Regions from separate parts of the Homo sapiens genome. Here all the other regions are linked to region 3. The links are contacts of gene promoters, found by promoter capture Hi-C in blood cells and fetal thymus (Javierre and others, 2016). All regions are on one chromosome and are shown on one strand. The core of a region is centred on a gene start or on the middle of the fragment in contact, and the rest is flanking DNA. Distances in the headings are between cores, read along the strand shown. Region 1 overlaps VPS54 (VPS54 subunit of GARP complex). Region 2 overlaps CEP68 (centrosomal protein 68). Region 3 holds the start of AFTPH (aftiphilin). Region 4 overlaps LINC02576 (long intergenic non-protein coding RNA 2576). Region 5 overlaps RAB1A (RAB1A, member RAS oncogene family). Region 6 holds the start of ACTR2 (actin related protein 2). Region 7 overlaps UGP2 (UDP-glucose pyrophosphorylase 2).

Region 1 (3,364 bases), core at 21-2,520, 520 kb after region 3:
AAATACAAAAAATTAGCCGGGCGCGGTGGCGGGCACCTGTAGTCCCAGCTACTCGGGAGGCTGAGGCAGGAGAATGGCGTGAACCTGGGAGGCGGAGCTTGCAGTGAGCCGAGATTGTGCCACTGCAATCTGGCCTGGGCTAAAGAGCGGGACTCCGTCTCAAAAAAAAAAAAAAAAAAAAAAAAAAAAAAAAGAAGCAATAGTAGACTGGGCATGGTAGCTCATGCCTGTAATACCAGCACTCTGGGAGGCTGATGTGGGAGGACTGCCTGAGCCCAGGAGTTCAGGACCAGCCTGGACAACATAGTGAGACCTCGTCTCTACAAAAATACAAAAATTAGCCAGGTGTGGTAGTGTGCACCTGTGGTCCCAGCTACTCAGGAGGCTGAGGTGGGAGGATCGCTTGCACCCAGGAGGTTGAGATTGCAGTGAGCTGTGATTATGTCACTGCACTCCAGCCTGGGTGACAGTGAGAGCCTGTCTCAAAAAGAAGAAATAATACTATGTTATAATTTAAACAGTTATTATTGTAGCTGTAGTTCAGTATAATTGTCCATTGTAGTGTTGTGTGTTTTATGCATTTAAAAACATTATTCTAAGAAGGTATCCATAAACTTCGCCAGACTGTAAAAGAAATCCACAGGACAATAAAGCTTAACTCCTGATCTAGAGATTGGATTGGATTGGATTGGATTAAACATTTTTGAAGAGACTATTTCATAGGTAATGATGTTTATTTCCTATTTTGTCATTTCATGAATTACATAATATCAGGTTGTCCTCCTGTTATCAGTAATGTTAACTTTAATGACTTATGTAAGGTGGTGACAGCCAGGTCTCCATTTTAAAGATACATTTTCCCCTTTGTGTTGCTAAGTAATCTGTGAGGTAATACTTAGGCGCCATGAGAATATAATGTTTTTAACAACTTTTCACCTAATGGCCTTAGCATACTTTGGTGATTTTTGCCTGAATTAGCTTTTACATTGGGGGTTGCAAATTGGTGATTTTCTAATTTGGTTATTCCTTTTATATTTATTACTGGCATTCTTCAGTAGAGATTTTCTTTCCCCACCCCCTTTCCTTATCTTTTTTTTTCTCCCTTAAGTATCTCTATGTATCCATTAATTTTTACTTATTCCATATGTTATACTCTATTACTTTTAAAAAAATATGCTCAAGTTGTCCCAAATGTGGCCAGTGGGAACCCCCTTTTAACTTGGTCCTTTGTCCTCTTGATAGGTCCTGCTGGTCTTTGAGCATATCTTGCTTTCTGACACAAGAGTGCTCAGGGTAGACTTATTCTTTCTGTATTCCATGTCTGGAGTTACATATTCTTTCAAAGAGTCCTGGTTCTTTTAGTTGGAAGTGGTATTTAGAAACAGAAGTCTGGGCACCACGTGTGTTCATTGCTTGGTGGGGTTCTGGCTGGTGGTTGGGGTTGGGGGAGGCAATGCTTCTAGTGCCTTTCAAAAGAAGTTTTTAACTGAACATAAAAAGATATTTTGAGCTATAAGAAAGAAAATCAAATCTCTATTTACTCATCCTTGGAAATCCTTTTTTTTTGGAATGGATGATTGTTTTTTCTTTTCCTTATTAGCCCAGACCCATTCTGTTATTACTTAAGTATTATTGGCAGCTGTCTGTCTGTTTTGTCTGTCTGTTCTGATATGTTCTACATACCATCCATTTCATTCATCTATAAAATTTTTATTATATGTATGACAGGAACTGTGATAAGCAAATAGAATACACAGAAAAACAGAAACATCAAGAAATGCAAAGCCTGATAGGGAAGAACTGTATGAAAAGCAAAACCTCAGTATGATTGATGCAAAAATTGAAATACATAGAGTGACTAAGTGTGAGAAACCAAAGAAAGCTTCAAGAGAGAATAATATTTGAACATAGTATTCATACAATTATAAGGAGATTACCATGTGAAAAAGGTAGAGCTATTTATAGATTCTCATTACAATTGTTAAAATGCCAAATTTGTTTCTAGATGGTAGTTAACTTGAACTATCAGAAATCAGTAGTTCCCTGTGTTTAGTGCTTAGAGCTTTCCGTTTTCCTGTATTTTGTGTATTTTGTTTGCTTGTTTGTTTTTTCGAACTGATTTTTTTTCTGAGTAGACAAACTATCATTGCTTATCCTGAAACCTTCTTAAGGTTTCTCATCATTTTTGTTCTTTAGCCTTTCAATGAAAGATTATTTCTTTGCTGAAATTTTGTGATTCAGATGCCATGTACATTTGTTGTATTTGTCTGTACATCTACATCTTATGAATAAATCCATGTTTTCTTACCAGTGATTGTACTTTTATAATTATGTGATGATCAGTACAAAGTTTGGTTCTTACTGTAGGGAGATCTTTTTAATAATAAGCTGTGGATGGTGAAGGCAGTGAAGAGTCAAATGTTTGGAAACTGGGACTCATCTTTATAGGCAGTCCACTAGTTTTATGTAATCCCCTTTTACTAGAGATCTTCCCTCTTGTTATAAGAATTAAGAGTGGTATAGGAAAAAAGAGAATGTGCATATGTTTTCCAAGTCAAAATCTTTAAAGAGTAAACCATGTGTTTTTCTCCTCAGATACAGAAATAACTTAGAAGAATCTAGAAATATTTTTCTGCCATCTCCCTGCATATTTCTAGGTTTCTAAAATGGCACTTAGGATTTTTTTTCTGTAAAAACAGCATGGTAAATAGAATAAATCAAGATATCAACATAGTATTGTCAGAATGAATATCTAATTTATCTGACATTAAGCAATGGATGTTTAACATAAATACATTTTCCACATGTCTGTGGCTTAACACTTCATGTCAAAATGTATTTATTTTAGATTTGGGGGTACAGAGCAAGATGGTGGACTAGAAGGCTCCACTGGATGTCCCCCTCCATAGGAACACCAAATTTAACAACTACACACCAAAAGCACTTTCATAAGAAACAAAAATCAGGTGAGCACTCACAGAACCTGATTTTAACTTCATATTGCCCAAAGAAGCACTGAACAGGATAGGAAAGACAGTCTTGAATTGCTGACACCACCTCTCCCCCATCCCCCATGCAGCGACTATGTGGTGTGGAGAAATTTGTATGCTTGGGATAGGAGGAGTGCAGCAATTGTGAGACTTCTCATTGAATGCACTATAACAGCAAAAAGCAAAACCAGGGTGAACTCAGCTGATGCCCACACATGGAGGGAGCATTCAGACCAGCCCTAGCCAGAGGGGAATTACCCATCACAGTGGTTGGAACTTGAGTTCTGGCAAGCCTTGCCACTGTGGGCTGAGGTGTGCCGGGGTCCTAAATAAAAGGCAGTGTAAGCCAAAAGGACTGCAAGTCCTAGTGCTGA
Region 2 (3,625 bases), core at 214-2,713, 540 kb before region 3:
GTGCTGGGATTATAGGCATAAGCCACTGTACCAGGCTTATCCTTCCCTCCCTTTTTTTTTTTACATAAAAGTAGCAAACTGTATAGGTCATACTATTCAGAACCTTGGTTTTCTTTTCTCTACAAAAAATATCTAGGGGCTCATTCCTAAGCAATACAGCAGGTCCTTCAGTAACATCACTTGGTACGATATCTTTTTTTTTTTTGAGACAGAGTCTCACTCTGTTGCCCAGGCTGGAGTGCACTGGTGCGATCTCAGTTCACTGCAACCTCCGCCTCCCTGGTTCAAGCAATTCTCCTGCCTCAGCCTCCCAAGCAGCTGGGATTACAGGCATGTGCCACCATGCCCAGCTAATTTTTTTTTGTGTGTGTATATATATATATATATATATATTTTTTTTTTTTTTTTTTTTGAGACAGAGTCTCACTCTGTCTTCCAGGCTGGTGTGCAGTGGTGTGATCTCGGCTCACTGCAACCTCTGCCTCCTGGGTTCAAGCAATTCTCTGCCTCAGCCTCCCGAGTAGCTGGGATTACAGGCACCCACCACCACACCTGGCTAATTTTTATATTTTTAGTAGAGATGGGGTTTCACCATCCTGGCCAGGCTGGTCTTGAAATTCTGACCTTATGATCCACCCGCCTCAGCCTCCCAAAGTGCTGGGATTACAGGCGTGAGCCACCGTGCCTGGCCAATTTTTGTATTTTTAATAGAGACGGGGTTTCGCCATCTTGGCCAGGCTGGTCTTGAACTTCTGACCTCGTGATCCACCCGCCTCAGCCTCCCAAAGTGCTAGGATTACAGGTGTAAGCCACACCGCCCAGCCGGTCCAATGTCTTTTCATTATATCATTGATAAGAAACCCTGATTCCTGACTGAGGTCACTGTCTGTATGGAGTGTGCACATTCTCCCCATGTCTGCCTGGATGATATCCAGTTCATCTGGATACTCGGGTTTCCTCCCACATCCTGAAAACATATACTTAGGTGAATGGGGCTGACTACATGGTCCTGGTCTGAGTGTGGGTAGATGAGTGAGCGTGCCCTGCCATGGGATGAAGTCCTGCCCATGATTGGTTCCCTCCTTACACCCTCAGCTGCTGGGACAGGCTCCAGCTACCTGCGAACTTGAACCCATTTGAGTAAGCAGGTAAATCATAATCTTGTGTTTTTTTTTTTTTTTTTAAGATGAAGTCTCGGTTTGTCACCTAGGCTGGAGTGCAGTGGCGTGATCTTGGCTCACTGCAACCTCCGGCCCCTGGCTTCAAGCAATTCTCCTGCTTCAGCCTTCTGAGTAGCTGGGACTACAGACACTCACCACCATGCCTGACTAATTTTTGTATGGGGTTTCACCATGTTGGCCAGGCTGATCTGGAACTCCTGACCTCAAATGATCCGCCCTAGTTGGCCTCCCAAAGTGCTGGGATTACAGGCATGAGCCACCACGCCTGGCTCATCTTACTTGTTTTTATTCATCTTTCATAAATGTATGTACAGCTCACATTTATTTCACTATTTAATTTAAAAGTGTTTTAGTCTTTACTTAGAAGTTTGGTGATGCTTTCATGACCAGAAATATGCCATAGGAGCTTAACTCTTATTTATATCAATTAGACTATGGTAAAATTGGTTTCGTTATATGTCCTTTCAAGTGGCAGAGTCACGGTTTCCAAGAACTTACTGACGACATCAAGTGAGGACTTACCGTACAAAGACAGCTTCCTCTTTTTCATTACTGACCAGTACTGTATTCTGGTGTAAGGACGCACTAGTTTATTTCACCAGTCCCTTATTAGTGGACATTTGGGTTATTTCTAGTCTTTTTTGCTAGTCCAAACAATGCTATGATGAGTCACTATGCACACACATTTGTGCTGGCACATCCTCAGCATGAATTGCAGAAGTAGAGCTGCTGAGGCGAAGGGTGCTTTTGCACACACTGCCAAGTGGCCCTCTGCTGAGTGGTATCACTCTACACTCCACCAGCACATGTGAGGGCCAGTTCCCACGGGAGCCAGGGTCTTTAATCCTCACGTCACAGATGGGGAAACGAAGCCTCTGAGTGAGACAAGTCCAGGACTGCCCAACTCCAGAGCCCAAGCTGTTTATGAGCCAACTGGGGAATAAGTGATCAAACAGTTAAGCCACAAAGCAGAAGAGAGAGAAGACTGGTGGAGGGACAAAGAGAAGAGTGACAAATCTTGCTGAGACAGAGATCTTACGGAGCCACATCCTCACCTTGTGGCTCATTAAGAAACTGCACATGAAGACGTTTACAGGCAAGTTTTGTTTTCATAAGTAGGGGAACAGCTGCGCCCGTGAGCTAGAAAAACCAGGGTGAAGGCTGGGTATAGCCCATAATTCCCAATTGCTACTTCTTGCTCCATTTCTTTTTTTTTTTTTTTTTGAGACGGAGTCTCGCTTTTTCGCCAAGGCTGGACTGCAGTGGCGCTATCTCAGCTCACTGCAAGCTCCACCTCCCGGGTTCACGCCATTCTCCTGCCTCAGCCTCCCGAGTAGCTGGGACTACAGGCGCCCACCACCGCACCCAGCTAATTTTTTGTATTTTTAGTAGAGATGGGGTTTCACCACATTAGCCAGGATGGTCTCGATCTCCTGACATCGTGATCTGCCTGCCTCGGCCTCCCAAAGTGCTGGGATTACAGGTGTGAGCCACCACGCCCGGCCTCTTGCTCGATTTCTAAAAACTCTCTCAATGGCTAGAGATTCCCCACACCTCTCACTAAAGGGTGCGATCTTGAGACAAGGTGCTGGAATAAGATGATGATGGGGCAAGGGAGGGGTGCAAACAAATTATCCCTTTGTTTTGATCATGTACTTTTTATTCATCTTGTCTGGACCTCATTATTCAAAAAAGAAGGTATCTATTTAGCCTGGAGAGATAGGGAGTGGTGAGCTATTACAAACTATTCAGTTGACATCCCTAAGTAACTTACAAGGATACACACAAACCTAAACTAGGTTAGTAGTGTGGCCAAAGTCCCTTCAGCAACCAGGTAAGAAGATCTGAAATTCAATGATTTTCAAGGAAATTGTACGTCTGTAAAGACGGAATGAAGGTAGTTACTTTCTTAGACTGGATAAACAGTCCCTTCATAATCTTATTAATCTGCCTGACAAATCATGCTTTTCCCCCCTATTATACAAGTTTATTATGAGAACCAAGACAGACACATGTGAAAGAAAATAAAAACCAATCTATAATGCATTCAAAACTGTCTATGAAATGTTACCAAAATGCAACGAAAGGGAGAAATCAGTTGGGATAAAAATAATAGGGGAAAACTTCCTGAAGTAATGACTGAAGACAAACCTCTTTTAAAACAGCAATCATGCCGAAGAAAACACTGGCCCAGGCTATGATAAACGCACAAGTTTTGGATTCCTAGGACTCAACCCTGTCTGCATCTGGCCGGTGGCCATCTGTAACACTGCATGAAGGTCTGGTCTTCATTTCCATAGATCCGAGATTTTACACATCATTCCTCCTAACCCTCTGGGGTAGGGGTGGGGGCGATAGATTCAGGTTGCACTTCTAATAAGAGGCAGCTTATCCTTCTCAGACTGGTGAATAGCGCTTGTTGTCTTGGACCCACACAGTCTCCC
Region 3 (3,132 bases), core at 420-2,919:
AAGATCAACTGATATATCTAATTTAATCCACGGAGGAACAACTAGAGCTAATGAATATCTGCTAGGTGCCATTTACTGGGCTAGATGTTTTACACAAGATCTGTCTTTTAATCCATGTGAAATATCTTTATGAACAAAATTTAGGAGACTACCACAGATACTTTGTTTAAACAAATATACCTCTGCGAAGTGTTAAAAATGACTACTAAAAAAGCCAACATTTAAACTGGTAAAGCATATAAAATGTACGTGACTGTGTTAATTATATTAACATAATAATGTTGAAACATTTGTTGTCCCTAGAGTTTAGCATATATTTTAATGTCTAAGAGGTTAACTGAAAGCAACAATTAAGTGTAGCATCAAAGATAAACTCTGTGTCTCCCCTCCACCAAATAAAATCCTCGGAATAGGAGGTGGAAGGAAGACTTACACTGTAGGAAAAGTTGAAAACCAAAGTTCTACTTTACTTCTCCTAAAGTGAGAACTTTGAAACGGAACCATTACTTTTGTTTCATCCCCCCGCCCAGTAAAAAATTTACATGTATGAGTCAGTTCTTCCCTCGGCCCCAACAGAAAAGATTCAGTATAACCAAGCTATAACTTGCACAAAGCAACAAGGAAAAAAAAACCTTGCTATCCCCATTACTTTCCTAATAGAGCAAGGACCCTACCACCCCTCACTCCATACTCTGCCTCTGCCCCAAGCAAGACGCAGCACCTGCCAAACCAGGCACTTAAGGAATATGGTCCAACTTTTCAAACGCAAACTGGAGAGGAGACGCAGATAATTTCTTGAAGAGTGCAAGAAGACAGCAGAAAAGGTACTCTGAGGAAGGGATGCGTGAGCTTTGGGGCTGTCCCCTCTGCCTGTTGGAGGATTCCAAATTCGCTTGCTTCAGAGACCCTTGGAAGCAGCACACTCAGGTCGCGGCCAGCCTCGGGCCTCGGTGAAGGAGGCAGTGTTTACACCTGTCACGAGGGAGGGGGAAGGAGAGCGAAGAAGCCCAAGCAAAGCCCCAAACTTCTGAACAGCTCCCTGGAGAACGCAGCCAGCGCGGAGCTTTGGGAGGTGGAAGCAAAGGGGCAGGGAGAGCCGGCGGTGGCCGGGGAGGGAAGGACTCCCACTTACCCGGCCGGTGCCCGGGATGGCGAGGAGGGGGCCGTGCGCTTCGGGCGCCACCAGCGGCGTTCCCGCACTCGCCGCAGAAGAGAGCAGAGCCGGGAGCCCGCAGGCCCGCAGAGCCAGCTCCGTCCTCACAGCTCCCGGCTCCGCGGCGGGCAGATGCTCCCGGCCCGGGTGAGGGTCTGGCTGCTGGGCCGGGCCTGGTCCCCGCACCCTCTTTCCCCGGCGCAGCTAGGGGAGCGGAGCGGCGGCGCTTACCTGGCTCCTTCGGGGCGGCTGCGATGGGCATGGCTCAGGGGCCCGGGGAGGAACTGACTCCCCGGGGAAGGACCGTCTATTCCGACGCGGAACTGGTGAGAGCGGAAGGCCGGCTGCTCACAGCCCTGTCAGCGCAGCAGCACCATGGACGCCCACCCGGAGTTTCACCGCTGCCGCGGGACCCCCATCCCACTACCCTCCGCCCTCTTCCGCCGCCGCCGCCGCCTCCTCCACCTCCTCCGCGGAGACCCCCCGCCCACTCCACACACTCTCCCATCATGCAGCGGGGGAACCGCTGCCGCCGACACGTCACTTCCGGGCGCAGGTGGCTAGGTCGGGACCGGGCGCTGGTGGGTGCTGTGGGGTGGGGGAGGACACTCCAGGGGAATTGGTGTCACAGAACGCTTATCCCTGCGCAGGCGCTGTCGTGCAGAGCGCCGACCGCCATTTTGGGTGCGGGCAAGCTGCCCTTTCCTTTTACTTCCTTGCGAGTCATAGAGCTGTAGGGGGATAGACGTCTTCCCGCACTCAGGCGCCGGTTGAGGCTGCGCTCCTGGCGAAGGACAGGTGCTCCTTTCAGCCGGTTAACGTTCAGCTCAAGACCGGATTAAGTCTCTTGCTCTCCAAATAAAATTGTAAAGGTTTGGAAATATAGAACCACATTTTTACCAAAAACCTACTAGAGAGCATTCGTCAGCTTGCCCTTTTCGCCCCGAAAAACGACTTTTTCATTCACAGCCTGTCTCTTCCTCTTTTTAAATTTATGCCGACAGAGGAAGAAGCTGATATTTAACAAATAACAAGAGGTTGCGATAAATAGAATTTAAGGTGGGAAAGCAGCCGCCAAACTGACAAATCGTCTTCGAGACCGACAAGAAAATAGTAGTCCGGAATTTGGCTAATGGATGGAGAAGGTGGTCGTTTTTCATAGACCCTTACGGAGAATATCTAGTGAAGCTAAAGAGATCACCATAAACTTATGCATTCAAACGCATTTCTGGAACAGAGGTCGTAACCGATTTTGTTTCCATCATCAGTCCTGAACAGTTGATTATTTATATAATCAACTGTTATTTATATAAAGGTAATAAAAATATTACCTTTCCTCCTCCTTTACAATGAATATCTGTTAGAACACCTGCCAGTGTAACAATCAGACTACAAGGCTACAGGATTATGATTACTGTCTCGGATGATGAGCCCGGGGTCCTACAAATCATGACCCCCGCCGGCCCCTCATTCTGCCCATATTTGCCAAACGTCTGCATCAGTAATTTGAATAATTTAAAATAGTTCCAAAACAGCAAAGCTCAGCAGTTACGCAAAGAAACAAGAATGGAAAACATCCCCTCAGGCACAGAGAAGTGTCCACCCCTTTGGGTGGAGGAATTATACAAATCAGGAGAAAGATAAGGACAATAGCAGTTCATCACGATTTATCCCGCCTCTGCAATGTTCTAGACAAATTAACTCGGAGCGCTCCAATGGACCCGCATTTGTCTCTTTACTATTCAATCGCTGTAAGATATACGGAGACTGCATCACTTTAAATGGGAGTATCAATTGCTTTGTGGTTATGCTGGATTTTGTGTTATTGCTCAGTCACTAAAGTAAGAAAAATCTATATGGCTTGTCAAATTTATGCCTATTGTATTTCGCCCCCTGCTGGTTTAGCTCGTGTGCAAGCTTGAATTTGTGTGTGTGTAGAAACTAGAAATTGATTTTAAACGAACACATGCTTGTTTTCA
Region 4 (3,200 bases), core at 674-3,173, 520 kb before region 3:
AAAGAAGCCAGTCACAGAAGACCACATAGATGATTCCATTCGTATGACACATCCAGAATAGGCAAATCTATGGAGACGGTGGATTAGCAGTTACCTAGGGCTGCAAGAGTTGAGGGGAATAGGAAGTGACCACTAATGGGTAACAGTTTCTTTTAGGGGTAATGAACTAAATTTGATTGTTCTAAAATTGACTGTGATGATGCTTGCACAACTCTGAATAAACTAAAACCATAGAACTGTGTACTGTAAATGGGTGAACTGTATGGTAGGGAAATTAGATCTCAATAAAGCTGTTTTTTTTAAAAAAAAGATATAGAAGTCAACTTGAAGGACTTTTTTTTTTTTTTCTTTTTTTTTTTTTGAAACAGAGTCTTGCTCTTTCTCCCAGGCTGGAGTGCAGTGGCATGATCTCAGCTGACTGCAACCTCTGCCTCCCAGGTTCAAGTGATTCTCCTGCCTCAGCCTGCTGAGTTATAGGTACTTGCCACCACACCCGGCTAATTTTTTTTTTTTTTTTCCAGTAGAGACAGGGTTTCACCATGTTGGCCAGGCTGGTCTCAAACTCTTGACCTCTGGTGATCCATCTGCCTCAGCCTCCCAAAATGCTGGGATTATAGGCATGAGCTACCACACCTGGCCTTGAAGGACTTTTTCATTGGCCAAATTTGGGACAATCTGCAAATAAAAAATAATGTTAATTACGATTTAATTACATTTTAAGTATAATTGTATTTAAGTATATTTGAGATAATTATATACTTAAATGTATAATTAACTTCAACATAATTAGGTATATAGTTAAGTATATATGCTTAATATATGATTATATTTAAAATATGTTTATATATTAAATATATTAACAAGTATATTAATATATAGTACTATATAATAAATATGTTTAACATAATATATAAATATATAATAAATGTATTAAATGTTAATGTAAAATAAATATTTGTAATCTATAATTATAATTGATTATAATATAATAATTTTTTGAAAATCATGGTCCATAGTCAATCTCAAACAAAACATAAGAAAACAAAGAGAGAAAAAGAAAAGCTCATCTTTACAGAGTGATAACTGTAAGAGGAATGTTAGATTAGACAATTACCCTTTTGGAAACTCAAATGTAATAATTAACCAATTAACCAAGATAAGGATTACTAATGAATGCTAAAACTATTGGGAAAAAAGTTTCTGGGAACAAGGTATTCACACAGACTCCCAAGTATTGCCCCACTGATTATTTACTAATTACAAAAGGGAAATTATGCATTTATAATGGAAAGATCAAACAATTACCACCATAACCAAGTGATCAAACATCACCAATAATGGGACTACCAGACATGTGCCTCCTAAGTAGAATTCTTTCCAAAAATATTTAACCTAACTTCCTGCTTACAGGAAATACAGTAGATACTGGTATAAGATGAACACCATTAGGAAGTAATCATCTCCAGAATATGGGATATTATGTAGCTGCACCAGACCAGTTTGGTTCAACTTTTATGTAACAAAAGTTATGAGTTGTTTTTCAGTTGCTAATGGAGCTTCAGGTCATGTAACCTGAGCAGGCCCAGGTGAACCAAGTGTGTAGCCACAGGGGGGAACCTAAGTGCTCAGAGGAGCAGGGACTGAATTAGGAAGTTGACACTGCATGGCTGGATCTACGATGCAATCAGATTGAGCTCTGGCATCACTCATTAGCAGGATCCAGTGAGATCATGCCTCTTGGCATTACCTCATTGCAAGATCCAGTCAGATCATGCCTCATTACCCTATGCTTATAAAACCTGACACAGCCTGGAGCTCAGGGAGGCATTGCTTTGGGAGCTATCTATACCCAGTGTTCTTTTTACTAGTTGTAAGTAATAAAATCCTCTTGTTAAATCCTCCTTGGTTGTGGCCATTGGTTGTTACTTACCAAGTGACCTAGCCCACCTGTTGTGTGGGCAACAGTTGTACAAAACAATTGGCCTGAACTCTTCAAAAATGTCAACAGTATGGAAAAAAATACCCAGTAATAAATGGTATTGGAAGGAATGGTTCTAGATTAAAAGAGACTAAATAGATAATAACCAAAAACAATACAGGAAACTTGAGTGGATAGTGGAGCAGGAAAAAAAAGAGCTATAAAAGGTATTTGGGGGATAACTGGAGAGAGTTGAATTTGGGCTGATATTAGATGATATTATAGCACAATTGTTAAATTTGAGGGGCGGTGATGGCATTGTGGTTATGTGGAAAAATATTTTTATTCTTAGGAGATACATGCTGCAGTAATTAGAGGTGAAATGTTATAATATCTTTGTATTAGTCTGTTTTCACACTGCTGATAAAGACATACCTGAGACTGGGTAATTTACAAAAGAAAGAAGTTTAATGGACTTACAGTTCCACGTGGCTGGGGAGGCCTCACAATCATGGTGGAAGGTGAAAGGCACGTCTCACATGGCAGCAGACAAGAGGAGAGAACTTGTGCAGGGAAACTCCCCTCTTTAAAACCGTCAGATCTTGTGAGACGTATTCACTACCACAAGAACAGCATGGGAAAAACCTGCCCCCATGATTCAATTACCTCCCACAGGTTCTTCCCACAACTTGTGGGAATTCAAGATGAGATTTCGGTGGGGACACAGCCAAACCATATCAATCTTTAACTTAATTTTGGTTGTTTAACAAACAAAACTGTATATCTGTATTTGTAGCTATCTATCTAAGGGGGAGCACGTGCAAATGTGATAAAATGTTAGTAATTGATGAATCTGTAGTTGGCAGACTCTAAGTTGGCACTCAGTGAATTCTGACCTTCCCTCCTGGAATTCACACCTTGTGTAATCCTTTTCCCTTGAGTAAGGGCTGGGTTTAGAGACTGGCTTCTAGCAAACAGCATGTGGGAGGTTCCTTCCATAATTGAATTCTCTCTCCTTCAATTGCTCAGATGGAGATGGGCTGCCATGTTGTGAGCTGCCCCATGGGGAAGAGGCTCACATGTGAGGAACTGAGGGAGGCCTCCAGAAAACAGCCAGTGAAGAACTGAGACCCTCAGTCCAATAGCCTATGAGGAACTGAATCCTGCTGACAACCATATGAATGAGCTTGGAAGCAGATCCTTCCCCAGTGAAGCCTTCATGTGAGACTGCAGCCCACTTGACACTTTGATTTGTAGCTTGTGACAGACCCCAAGCCAGAAG
Region 5 (3,226 bases), core at 111-2,610, 600 kb before region 3:
GATTGAGGGGAATGAGTAGATGGTGAGAAGCAACTGAACATTTATTAGTTCTCTTTTTGAGTTGTGTCTTGGAGGAGTTGTTTAAGAGCTCGCCGGGTCCATTGCCCTCCTATAAAAACCTGGGCATTTGTGAGAATTTTGTTTTTTTTTTTTTTAAAGAGGACACCTAAGTCATTTTGTCTTCTGTGGGTCAAGGGAAAAAAAAAAAACTAAAGCCAAGAAATGTCTTTTTGATACTCGCAGATTAAAGGAAGCTTGCTGTCAAGTTGAAAGAGAAACGAACGGGACCTATGATAGATCTGTATGTAGGTTTTGGATTACCTGCTTGGATGCTTGCAGATAGGGAATGAGGTTCCATGACGTGTCATGAAAAGTTAATGCATTTCTTTTTCTTGCTTACTCAAGAAGTCACCACAGCAGATGTGACACACCTGGCACCTTTCCTGGGAACTGGTGTTCACTTCCCTTGGGTAGAGTTTGTTGGGCTCTCCTCAATGGCCCTTTAAAAATTTCCTCTACAGTTTACATGCATGTAAAGTAATGAATAATTGGAAGAGACCGAATTGGTATTCCTTTTCAGTGTCAAAGGCCTTTGAGGGATGGGGGAACATCAGTATTTGTTGTAAAAGTTGAGTTTATTTGCTGGTTTGGTCAATTACTGCTAGACATTTTCCCCTAAAAGGTCCACCCACCAGTTTAGCTGACTGTCATATGTGTGTCACATGGCTCTTGCAAAATGCTTACAAGTTTTGTAATAGTGTGGCTTGAAGCTGAAATCTTTTGCACTAAACAGAAACCGTAGTATTTTATTAGAATTTCATGTTTTAGAAGTTGAGGGTAGTGTTCTTGTAGTGACATTTGCTGTGTTGACAGTTTAAAAAAAATTTTTTTTCAAGGGCTCCAAGGACAAAGTTGGTTTTGCACAGTTGAACGGAGGTGAACTTGAGGTTCTTAATTTAGTAGTTTTCTTGGTAACAATAAAGAACATGGATTTACTGCTTTATCGAGGTTTATAGACCTCTACTGTTCAGGAAATTTTCTGAATTTGCTATATATATGTTTATTAGTGTAAATAAATCTTCAAGATTAGTTGAGAACTTTGACAAGTTACTCAGCCTCTGAATTTTTTTTCCCTTTTGTAAAATAGGATAATTGGAGTCATTATTCCTGTCAGGGTAGTGGTGAAATTCAAATGTATATAAAAGAATTTGAAAAACCGTGTGAGCATTCTTCAGGTGGTATGCATCATTTTCATGAAAGGCATTCTATTAGTACCAGGATTTAGGAATATAATCCTTGCGCTTAAGAAGTTTAGATATAGGCCAGGCGCGGTGGCTCACCTCAGTAATCCCAGCACTTTGGGAGGCCGAGGCGGGCGGATCCCGAGGTCAGGAGATCGAGACCATCCTCGGTAACACGGTGAAACCCCGTCTCTACTAAAAATGCAAAAAAATTAGCCGGGCGTGGTGGTGGGCACCTGTAGTCCCAGCTACTCGAGAGGCTGAGGCAGGAGAATGGCGTGATCCCGGGAGGTGGAGCTTGCAGTGAACCAAGATCTGGCCACTGCACTCCAGCCTGGACGACAGAGCAAGACTCCGTCTCAAAAAAAAAATTATTTATTGTTTTGAGACGGAGTTTCAATCTTGTTGCCCAGGCTGGAGTGCAATGGCGCAAATCTCCTCTCACCGCCACCTCCGCCTCCTGGGTTCAAGTGATTCTCCTGCCTCAGATTCCCGAGAAGTTGGGATTACAGGCATGTGCCACCACTCCCGGCTAATTTTGTATTTTTGGTAGAGACGGGGTTTCTCCATGTTGGTCAGGCTGGTCTCAAACTCCCGAAGTGATCCGCCCGCCTCAGCTTCCCAAAGTGTTGGGATTACAGGCGTGAGCCACCGCGCCCGGCAGAAATAGATTTTATACATGTCAAATACCAGTAGATATAGCAAATTCCAGATGTGTGGCATGGATGAGAGCAACAAGATTTCAGGGGGATGGTGGGTTGTGGTTGGCTATCTGGGTTTTGGAAGACTTTATAGAAGAGAGACCTGAAAGGGATTTATCAGCAATTAGATTTGGAGGAACAGAGGGAGTGACTAGGAATTTTCAAGGGGGAGAAGAAGGAGGAATGGCTCATAAATGACAAGGACAGTAATTAATAAGTAAATACGGTGTCAAATCATCCTTTCTTTTGAAGACTAATGACCTCAAAGGGATCAAACCCAGAAACAGTTTTTATATTTTTTCTGGGATCAAATACATGGGTATCTGGCCTACTATATTTGTATTCTAGACTGTTTAGTAAAATAATACAGGAATTTGAGAAAACCTTTGCAAAAGTGTTAGTGAAAATTACTTAGGGTGAGAGGAAGTGAGGGATATTTTATTAGGGGAGGTCACAAGGGCAGTGAGCAATCAGATTTTTAGTAATCTGACTTAAGCAGTTTCTTTTTGTTTTAATGAAGCTTGTTATCTTTATAAAAGTAATTAGAGAAAATTTGGAAAATAAAGGAAAGAAAGAAAAGTTCTTTAGTGTTTTATCACGCAAATACAAGCTCATTCGTTTTTAACATCTTGTTCCAAACTCCAAAGTCTTGCTTTCTCTTCAATTAAAACTTTAATGGGTGGATGCTTTTCCTGCTTCCAGTATGTTATCTTAATAACTAACAATGGTATATTAGCTAATGTTTACAAATGTACTCCAGATGTTCCTTAAGTTACTTTGGTTTATCATTACCAATTTATATTGTTTCTTTTAGAAATTTATAATCTTTGTTAATGGGTTCTGCTAAATTTGGTAGTGAAAATGGGATCTTGAGAAAAAAGATTCTGAAGCAACAGAATTTTTAGATTTATATTGGTTTACATAAGAGTTGGTAGCTGTATTACTTTTTTTGTTTGTTTTGTTTTTTTTTTGAGACGGAATCTTGCTCTGTCGCCCGGGCCTTGGCCTCCCAAAGTGTTGGGATTACAGGCGTGAGCCACTGTGCCTGGCTGTTTGTGTTTTTTTTTGTTTTTGTTTTCTTTTCTTTTTCTTTTTTTCGAGATGGAGTCTCACTCTGTCACCCAGGCTGGAGTGCAGTGGCGCGATCTTGGCTCACTGCAATCTCTGCCTCCTGGGTTCAAGCGATTTTCCTGCCTTGGTCTCCTGAGTAGCTGGGATTACAGGCATTTGCCACCATAACCAGCTAATTTTTGTATAGAGTACCCAGCCATCTCTAATGTTGAT
Region 6 (3,144 bases), core at 635-3,134, 700 kb before region 3:
GTGCGATCTCGGCTCACTGCAACCTCCGCCTACCGGGTTCAAGCGATTCTCCTGCCTCAGCCTACCGAGTAGCTGGGATTACAGACGCCCACCACCATGCCCGGCTAATTTTTGTATTTTTAGTAGAGACGGGGTTTCACTATGTTGGCCAGCCTGGTCTCAAACTCCTGACTTCAGGTGATCCGCCCGCCTAGACCTCCCAAAGTGCTGGGATTACAGGCATGAGCCACCGCGCCTGGCCTCAATGTACGTTAACACTCTTTTTACTCTAGTCCATTTTTAACACAGTTCAGATGAAGCTACCATAATTATTGCTTGTAAAATTGTGTAACAAATCTAATCAAGGGCAGTATTATGGCAGTAAATACCAGCTCTTTTCCCCCTCAACAATTCAGATTCCAAAGTGTTTTGTTCAAGTAAAATGAACTTTAATTCATACATCATATTTATGGGAGGGAGGGGAGAAAACTCACAAAATGTTGCAACATCAAAATGGTTAGAAATCACTATAGAAGTCATCCAGAATAAATAATATTTCCATCTTCTAATTTGCTGACTTTGCTACCCAAAATACATTTTTTTTTAATCTGGCAAGAGGGAGGTCTGAATGAAACAATTTTTTTTTTTTATAATTGAGACGGAGTTTCACTCTTGTCGCCCAGGCTGGAGTGCAGTGGCGCAATCTCGGCTCACTGCAACCTCCGCTTCCTGGCTTCAAGGGATTCTCCTGCCTCAGCCTCCCAAGTAGCTGGGATTACAGGCAAGCACCACCACGGCCGGCTAATTTTTGTATTTTTAGTAGAGACCGGGGTTTCACCACGTTGGCTGGGCTGGTCTCGAACTCCTAACCTCTGGTGATCTGCCCGCCTGGGCCTCCCAAAGTGCTGGGATTACAGAAACAATTTTCAAATAGTTTCTAAATCAGTGCTTTAGTCAGATTTTACAATTTTTGAATCTTAAAGGCTAACATTACCTGTATACTGAAACGAAGGGAAAAAAGGGGGCTGGGGGTGGGATAATCAACACTAATTAACTTCCCCTAAGGCTAGTGGAATTAACACTTGAGTCTTGCGGGATCCTAGGTCACCCAAAACCACTCAATGGAACATGCTGGTCTCCGTGGGCCTACTCCTGGGCCAAATACTAGTATGTAAAACAAAAAGTGAACGATGCGCTGCCGATCTGGACCCCTTCCCTCGAAAAAACTAATAAAAAGCCCAACAAACACAGCGAAAGGGCTGAGGTCCACACTCCATGACAGCACTTCCCTTTTTTTTTTTTTTTTTTTAAGTAAACCCGCTTCCTGCTTCTCGTTTGGTGTATCTTCAACTATACAGGAAGAGGAAGGCCTCTAGGTCTTTCTCCTTTTTACAAACCGGTGGCCCTGGGGAAAAGAGCCCTTCTCGGAACACACAAACCGAGCCTTTTACGCTTCCGTCCGCTTTAGCCCAATTGCCCCCGCATTAGCGCGGAGCAGGTCCCTGCCGGGCGGTCAGTAGGCTCCATGTCCAGTGCCGGTCTCGCCCGCCGCCCCCACCCGGAAGGGTGAGGGGGTGGCAGGCTAAATGGGTGGCAGGCTCAAGGGAGACCAGGGAACGGCCGGCTCGCTCCCACGCCCGCGGAGGTGGGAGGCACCGCCCCGCGCCCCTTCGCCCCGAGGGCCCGGAGGTGCAGCCCTGGGGGCCGAGGGCCCGTGCGCCAGCTGCTCGTCCCCGCCGGCGTCTGTGGCCGCCAAGGCCTCCTCGCGCGGCCCTTACCCCGGTGCCGTTGTCGCACACCACCACCTTCCTGCCCTGGCTGTCCATCGTCCGCCCAGGGAAGAGCCGCTGCAGCCGCACAACCTACAGCCACCGCCGCCCGGCCGTTTTCTCTTCTTCCTCTTGCGTCTTCCCGGCCCCTCCTTCGGCCCAACTTTTTTCCCCCGACCGGAAGCCGCCGCCGGGCTCCGCCCGTCATTTAGCTGAATGCCTGCACGAAAAGGGTGGGACGGGCAGGCAGCGCGACTGGCAGCGGTGAGCTCCAATAAAAGATGGAGGAGCGTCGAGGCCCCTCCCGCAGCTCCGCTTCCGGCTCGGCTGTCACGGTCGCTGCCCACCCGGGTTCTTCGCTGCTTCTAGTTCCGGGCGCTTTGCCGGGCGTTAATGGCGGCCAACATCGCCGGTGCTGCGGCTTTCTCCCTAAAGTGTCACAGGAGCTAAGGGCGCTGCTTAACGAACTGCAGAAGACGCAGGCAGGTGAAGGACACCGGTTCTGCTGCGGCAGTGGAATGTGGCGGAGAAGCTGGCGGGTAGGGCGGGGAGCAAGCCTGGAGGTCCTGGCGGACCCCACCATTCGACAGGGCTTGGTGTGTTATTGCTTCTAGGCCTTTTCAGCGGACAGAACTGGGATGGATACACACATGCTTATTTGAAATCATGCGTTTGTTCCATACTCCAATGTCAGCCCACCCCTTCTTTGCCCAAGTTGCTCTATGGTCAAGTGAGCGAGAGCAGGTGCCTGCATTTCCAGCCTCGTGGCTCACCGCCTCCTTCCAGTAGTCCCATGTTGCTTCACACCTCTTAAGTACATGTACTTCTGTGAACCCAGAGCCTTGGCTTTGAAATCAGACAACCCCAGTTTCAAACGTGGCGCTGCCACTCACGAGTTTTGTGATTTTGGCATACCCCTGTCTGCATGGGGATAATAACTTCTATCTCCATAGGTGTGGTGAGGATAAAAGTCTATGCATGGAGGAAATGTTCATTCAGTGGTAGCTATTTCTAATTCTGTTCTTCTGGACCTATGATTCTATCTACGATGCCTCATTTTTTTTCCTTTTTAATCAATTGGCAAACTTGTGCTCTGAGACCCAGCTTGTTACATCTCTGATGACAGCTGATATCCTCAGGATATTCCGTACTTCCTTTCTCCCTATTACTTTACTATGAATATATGAATAACATTGTGCTTATTGCATGCAACAAATATTTATTAGATGAATGACATTAAAATTCACCTTTAAAATGCCATCCTTTATGAGAGGTGAGAAATAGAACTTTTCCTTCGACATGGCTGTACATGTTCAACAACTAGAATAAAACAGTCATCATGAACCCTCAATCCAGTATTCTTTTTATAATATAGCTGCCTGTCAGTTTTCACTGT
Region 7 (3,389 bases), core at 808-3,307, 680 kb after region 3:
AAGTATAGCAACCATCCTACTACATTCAAAACAGGTGTACACAACACTTAGGTGTAATGCCCAGATCTGCTGAACTTCAGTGCCTACCATAAGGGATATGCCAGAAATCCTAATACAGTACATCATACATAGTAAGAGCTCAAAAAAAATTTTGTTCACTGTATTCAGAAGAAAACCGTCACCAACTTGTACTCAAGTTGAGAGGTTATAAAAACTACAACCAAATTCATATTGTCCAAACGTTACCTTGCCCCACCCCGGCACTTTTTTTTTTTTTTTTTAACATAATAACACCTAGGCCTGAACATGAAACCTGGAATAGGAAAATAAAGAACTTTCATACCTGCCTTTTTTCTTTTAGTTCTGTTGATGACATGTGGTTATATTTTGGGTGGCAATGCTATCTGAAAGGCCACCATCATTTCAGGAAAGAAAAGTAAAATTGACTGGCTACCTAATATGTGCCTAGCACATCCACATAGTTCATCTCATTTCAGCCTCTCAATAACCCTGAGGCATAAGCATTACTGCCCAATTTTTATCTAAGAAGAAACTGAGGTTTGAAAGGTATGTGCCTAAGATCACCTGCTAGTAACGGTATTCAAATCTAAGTCTGTACCTTTCCATCTTTCTCAACATTTATATAATCTAAGAGGTGTTATAAAAACTACAACCAAAAATGTAAGATAAGCTACTAAATAGTAGATGGAAAATGCTAAGCTGTGGGCTTCTCATTTGTCATCCATGACAAATTCATTTAGAGTATCGTCCACTTACAAAACACTGTATTTCTCCCAAGGATATAATATTATCTTTGCCCAATGGGAACTGACAGTCTAGCTGGAGAAACAGGCCATTTCCACAGTTGTTAATGTTAGAAGCAACAAAAGATGTCGGGAAGGACTAGGGTTTTAGACACACTCATGTAAGAATTTCAGTGCTGTGCACTAGCAGCTCACACCTGTAATCCCAGTACTCTGGGAGGCTGAGGCTAGAAGATCGCTTAAGACCAGGAGTTTGAGACCAGCCTGAGAAACATAGGGAAAGCCTGTCTCTTTAAAAAAGGAGAAAAGTAGCCAGGCATGGTGGTGTGCACCTGTAGTCCCAGCTACTCAGGGGGCTGAGGTGGGAAAATTGCTTAAGCCAAGGAGATCAAGGCTGCAGTGAGCTGTGATCGCACCACTGCACTCCAGCCTGGCAACAAAGTGAGACCCTGCCTCAAAATCAATCTATCAATCAATCAGTGCTTTATACAAGCTGTGAACTTTGGACAAGATACTTAACTTTCCTCACCTGTAAGGGCAGGATAAAAAATCTACATCTCAGGACTCTTATAAAGCTTGAGAAAACCCATGAAAAAAAAAAGTTAGAAACCTAACATTTGTTAACTCTTTCCCCTATGAAGGAGCATGAACTACTAAGTGCCAGTGATTGGAAATATCAATATTTTCTGCAGCAAAGATCAAAGAATTTGATTTGCTTAAAAAAATAATCAAAACCAAAATTTCCAACCCTTACACTTGAAAGCTCTTTTGTGGAGACAGCTGTGTCATTTGCCAATTAGGTTTATCATTTACAACAGCAGCAGAGTTAAACATATAGAGGGCTCACACTGTACAAAATTTAAACAATGATAAACAGGAGCACATTCATGTCAAAAAATTTTGAGGAGGTGTCATATTCTTGTGCAAAACTGCCCATCTTAAAAGGAAAACTACCATTTAAAGTAAAAATGTATGACAACTATAGGCTATGGCATATGCCTAAGTCCCATCTACTCAGGAGGCTAACGCAGGAGGACAGCTTGAGCCCAGGGGCTTGAGGCTGTAGTGCACTATGATTGTTCCTGTGAATACCCACTGTACTCCAGCGTGGACAACACAGTAAGACCTTGACAAAAAAAGAAGAAAGAAAAAGAAAAAAGAAAAAAAGTGGCTGGCAACTAAGTGCAATCTGGTATCTTAGAGTGAATCATGGGAACTGTAATCTGAACAAAGCCTTTAGTTAACAGTAATGTACCTATGTTAATTTCTTAGTTTTGACAAATGTGCAACTTTTCTATAAATCCTGAAGTATTCCAAAATATAAAAAGTTTTTTTAAAAAAAGTGGATGACAAAGTAATGACAAACATACACAGCAACTCTTACCACTTGATTTTGAATCTTCTGAGGACAAGTTGGCATTACAGCAAAGGCTGTGAAATCAGTCAATGCTTGCCAATTCTGCAACCTATTCTAAAGCATAACTCTACATGGAACACCTTGGGTTTATTAATATTTCTAACTTTTAAAGAGAAGTAACTTGTCCACTTTTACCTAGCATATTCTTGCAAAATACCGCCTTTATGGTAACTGAATATTGTTATTACAAAACCAGTACGTTTCTAACAGTTCTGCCTTTCTATTCTTGAATAAGACATTTACTCAATCAGAACATAAGCATCTCTTACCACATATAAGGTATAACATGAATTTGAAAGTCTAATAACAAGTGACATTTCTGAGCTTAGCGCTAAAGGCAAGCATAGCGTTCGATCTGTTTCGATAATAACACAGGCAGTCGAATTCTCTTACTTTAATCTACTACACAAAATTTAAAGAAGAGTTAATAAAGCGATGTAGAACTCAGTAGGGCATTTTTATTCCCAGGGTCAAATGATGGCCATTACTGACACAACTTTTTTTTTCCAAAAGTACACCTACATTTATCAGGAAGCATAATAAGTGTTTGTGAACTTTACTAGCTGTGTGTTCATCAAGATGGCTGAAGCTTTCACACACTGGAGTCTACAAGGAAAGAGTTTACTTGCATACCAGAAGGCAAATCTCATGCTACAAACTGGTGTCAAAGGTTTATGCCAGCACCAATTTCAGTGAGTACACCGTACACACATGCATTCATATACACGTTACTGATAATCTCAGTTGAGGCATTCCCTAACCCTTTTTAAATACACATGTGGAATTTAGAGAGCAGTTTTCAAACTTCAAAGGAACCTTAATCATCTTTTCATAGTTCAAAAAAGGAAAAAATAAACACAGCAATGCAGCAAAGTCATTTCTCCAGCTGAAATGACCTCCAGCTTCTTCGGGCTACTCCCAGTTTCGCAATAAGTGAATCTGAGACGCAAACCACGTACACACAAACGAAGTAGAAGCGGAGAACACTAAAGCTTCCCCAACAGTCCCGGCAAAACCCACCCGGCTTTTCTCAGTCCTCCCGCTTCCCCAGCCCTTCCCGTCTGCGTGCACGCACAGGTACCTTGACACAGACCAGGAAAAGAGAACAAGGATTAATTAGCAGCCAAAAATCCTGTTTTATCACTTACAGCCACTATCCAGGAAAGCGACGGTACTACTAACCTGATTTCAGGGAGGCAAAACTAAAC

Evidence for each region. The method cuts DNA at HindIII sites, captures the fragments that hold promoters and counts their contacts. A CHiCAGO score of 5 or more calls a contact.
Region 1: a contact is called between a fragment that was not itself captured here and the fragment with the promoter of AFTPH in region 3, in 5 of 17 cell types (activated CD4 T cells, neutrophils, total CD8 T cells and 2 more). The highest score is 8.2, in activated CD4 T cells.
Region 2: a contact is called between a fragment that was not itself captured here and the fragment with the promoter of AFTPH in region 3, in 1 of 17 cell types (naive CD8 T cells). The highest score is 5.1, in naive CD8 T cells.
Region 4: a fragment that was not itself captured here is called in contact with the fragment with the promoter of AFTPH in region 3 in 3 of 17 cell types (total B cells, total CD8 T cells and neutrophils); the score reaches 7.5 in total B cells.
Region 5: a contact is called between a fragment that was not itself captured here and the fragment with the promoter of AFTPH in region 3, in 7 of 17 cell types (fetal thymus, total CD8 T cells, total B cells and 4 more). The highest score is 8.1, in fetal thymus.
Region 6: a contact is called between the fragment with the promoter of ACTR2 here and the fragment with the promoter of AFTPH in region 3, in 4 of 17 cell types (non-activated CD4 T cells, total CD8 T cells, fetal thymus and 1 more). The highest score is 8.0, in non-activated CD4 T cells.
Region 7: a contact is called between a fragment that was not itself captured here and the fragment with the promoter of AFTPH in region 3, in 1 of 17 cell types (fetal thymus). The highest score is 5.8, in fetal thymus.

What each region holds. Positions count from the first base shown.
Region 1 is chr2:64,001,919-64,005,282 of GRCh38, reverse strand. All of the region lies in intron 1 of VPS54 (VPS54 subunit of GARP complex), which reads left to right. Among named protein-coding and RNA genes, the nearest start is that of VPS54, 16 kb to the left of the region's middle. The HindIII fragment of the contact is 1,229 bases long and covers 656-1,884 here.
Region 2 is chr2:65,063,514-65,067,138 of GRCh38, reverse strand. The region is part of intron 1 of CEP68 (centrosomal protein 68); the gene reads right to left. Among named protein-coding and RNA genes, the nearest start is that of CEP68, 8.9 kb to the right of the region's middle. The HindIII fragment of the contact is 4,853 bases long and covers 1-3,625 here.
Region 3 is chr2:64,522,865-64,525,996 of GRCh38, reverse strand. AFTPH (aftiphilin) reads right to left here and starts at 1,669. Exons shown (of 10, transcript NM_203437.4): 1 at 1,385-1,669. It overlaps AFTPH-DT (AFTPH divergent transcript), which reads left to right and starts at 1,842. Exons shown (of 1, transcript NR_136167.1): 1 at 1,842-3,132. MIR4434 (microRNA 4434) reads right to left here and starts at 484; the gene lies at 432-484. RefSeq lists enhancers at 790-1,290, 1,291-1,791, 1,893-2,112 and silencers at 1,163-1,412, 1,423-1,502, 1,533-1,692. The HindIII fragment of the contact is 6,179 bases long and covers 1-3,072 here.
Region 4 is chr2:65,047,960-65,051,159 of GRCh38, reverse strand. The region is part of intron 2 of LINC02576 (long intergenic non-protein coding RNA 2576); the gene reads right to left. Among named protein-coding and RNA genes, the nearest start is that of CEP68, 6.9 kb to the left of the region's middle. RefSeq lists a silencer at 519-691. The HindIII fragment of the contact is 8,739 bases long and covers 1-3,200 here.
Region 5 is chr2:65,126,128-65,129,353 of GRCh38, reverse strand. All of the region lies in intron 1 of RAB1A (RAB1A, member RAS oncogene family), which reads left to right. Among named protein-coding and RNA genes, the nearest start is that of RAB1A, 2.4 kb to the left of the region's middle. RefSeq lists an enhancer at 1,504-2,043. The HindIII fragment of the contact is 2,208 bases long and covers 257-2,464 here.
Region 6 is chr2:65,226,571-65,229,714 of GRCh38, reverse strand. It overlaps ACTR2 (actin related protein 2), which reads right to left and starts at 1,884. Exons shown (of 9, transcript NM_005722.4): 1 at 1,758-1,884. The coding sequence starts at 1,805. LOC124907779 (a long non-coding RNA gene) reads left to right here and starts at 2,116. Exons shown (of 2, transcript XR_007086461.1): 1 at 2,116-2,234. RefSeq lists enhancers at 953-1,042, 1,115-2,003, 2,004-2,893 and a silencer at 1,543-1,732. The HindIII fragment of the contact is 6,982 bases long and covers 1-3,144 here.
Region 7 is chr2:63,842,412-63,845,800 of GRCh38, reverse strand. All of the region lies in intron 1 of UGP2 (UDP-glucose pyrophosphorylase 2), which reads right to left. Among named protein-coding and RNA genes, the nearest start is that of UGP2, 2.2 kb to the right of the region's middle. The HindIII fragment of the contact is 1,431 bases long and covers 1,342-2,772 here.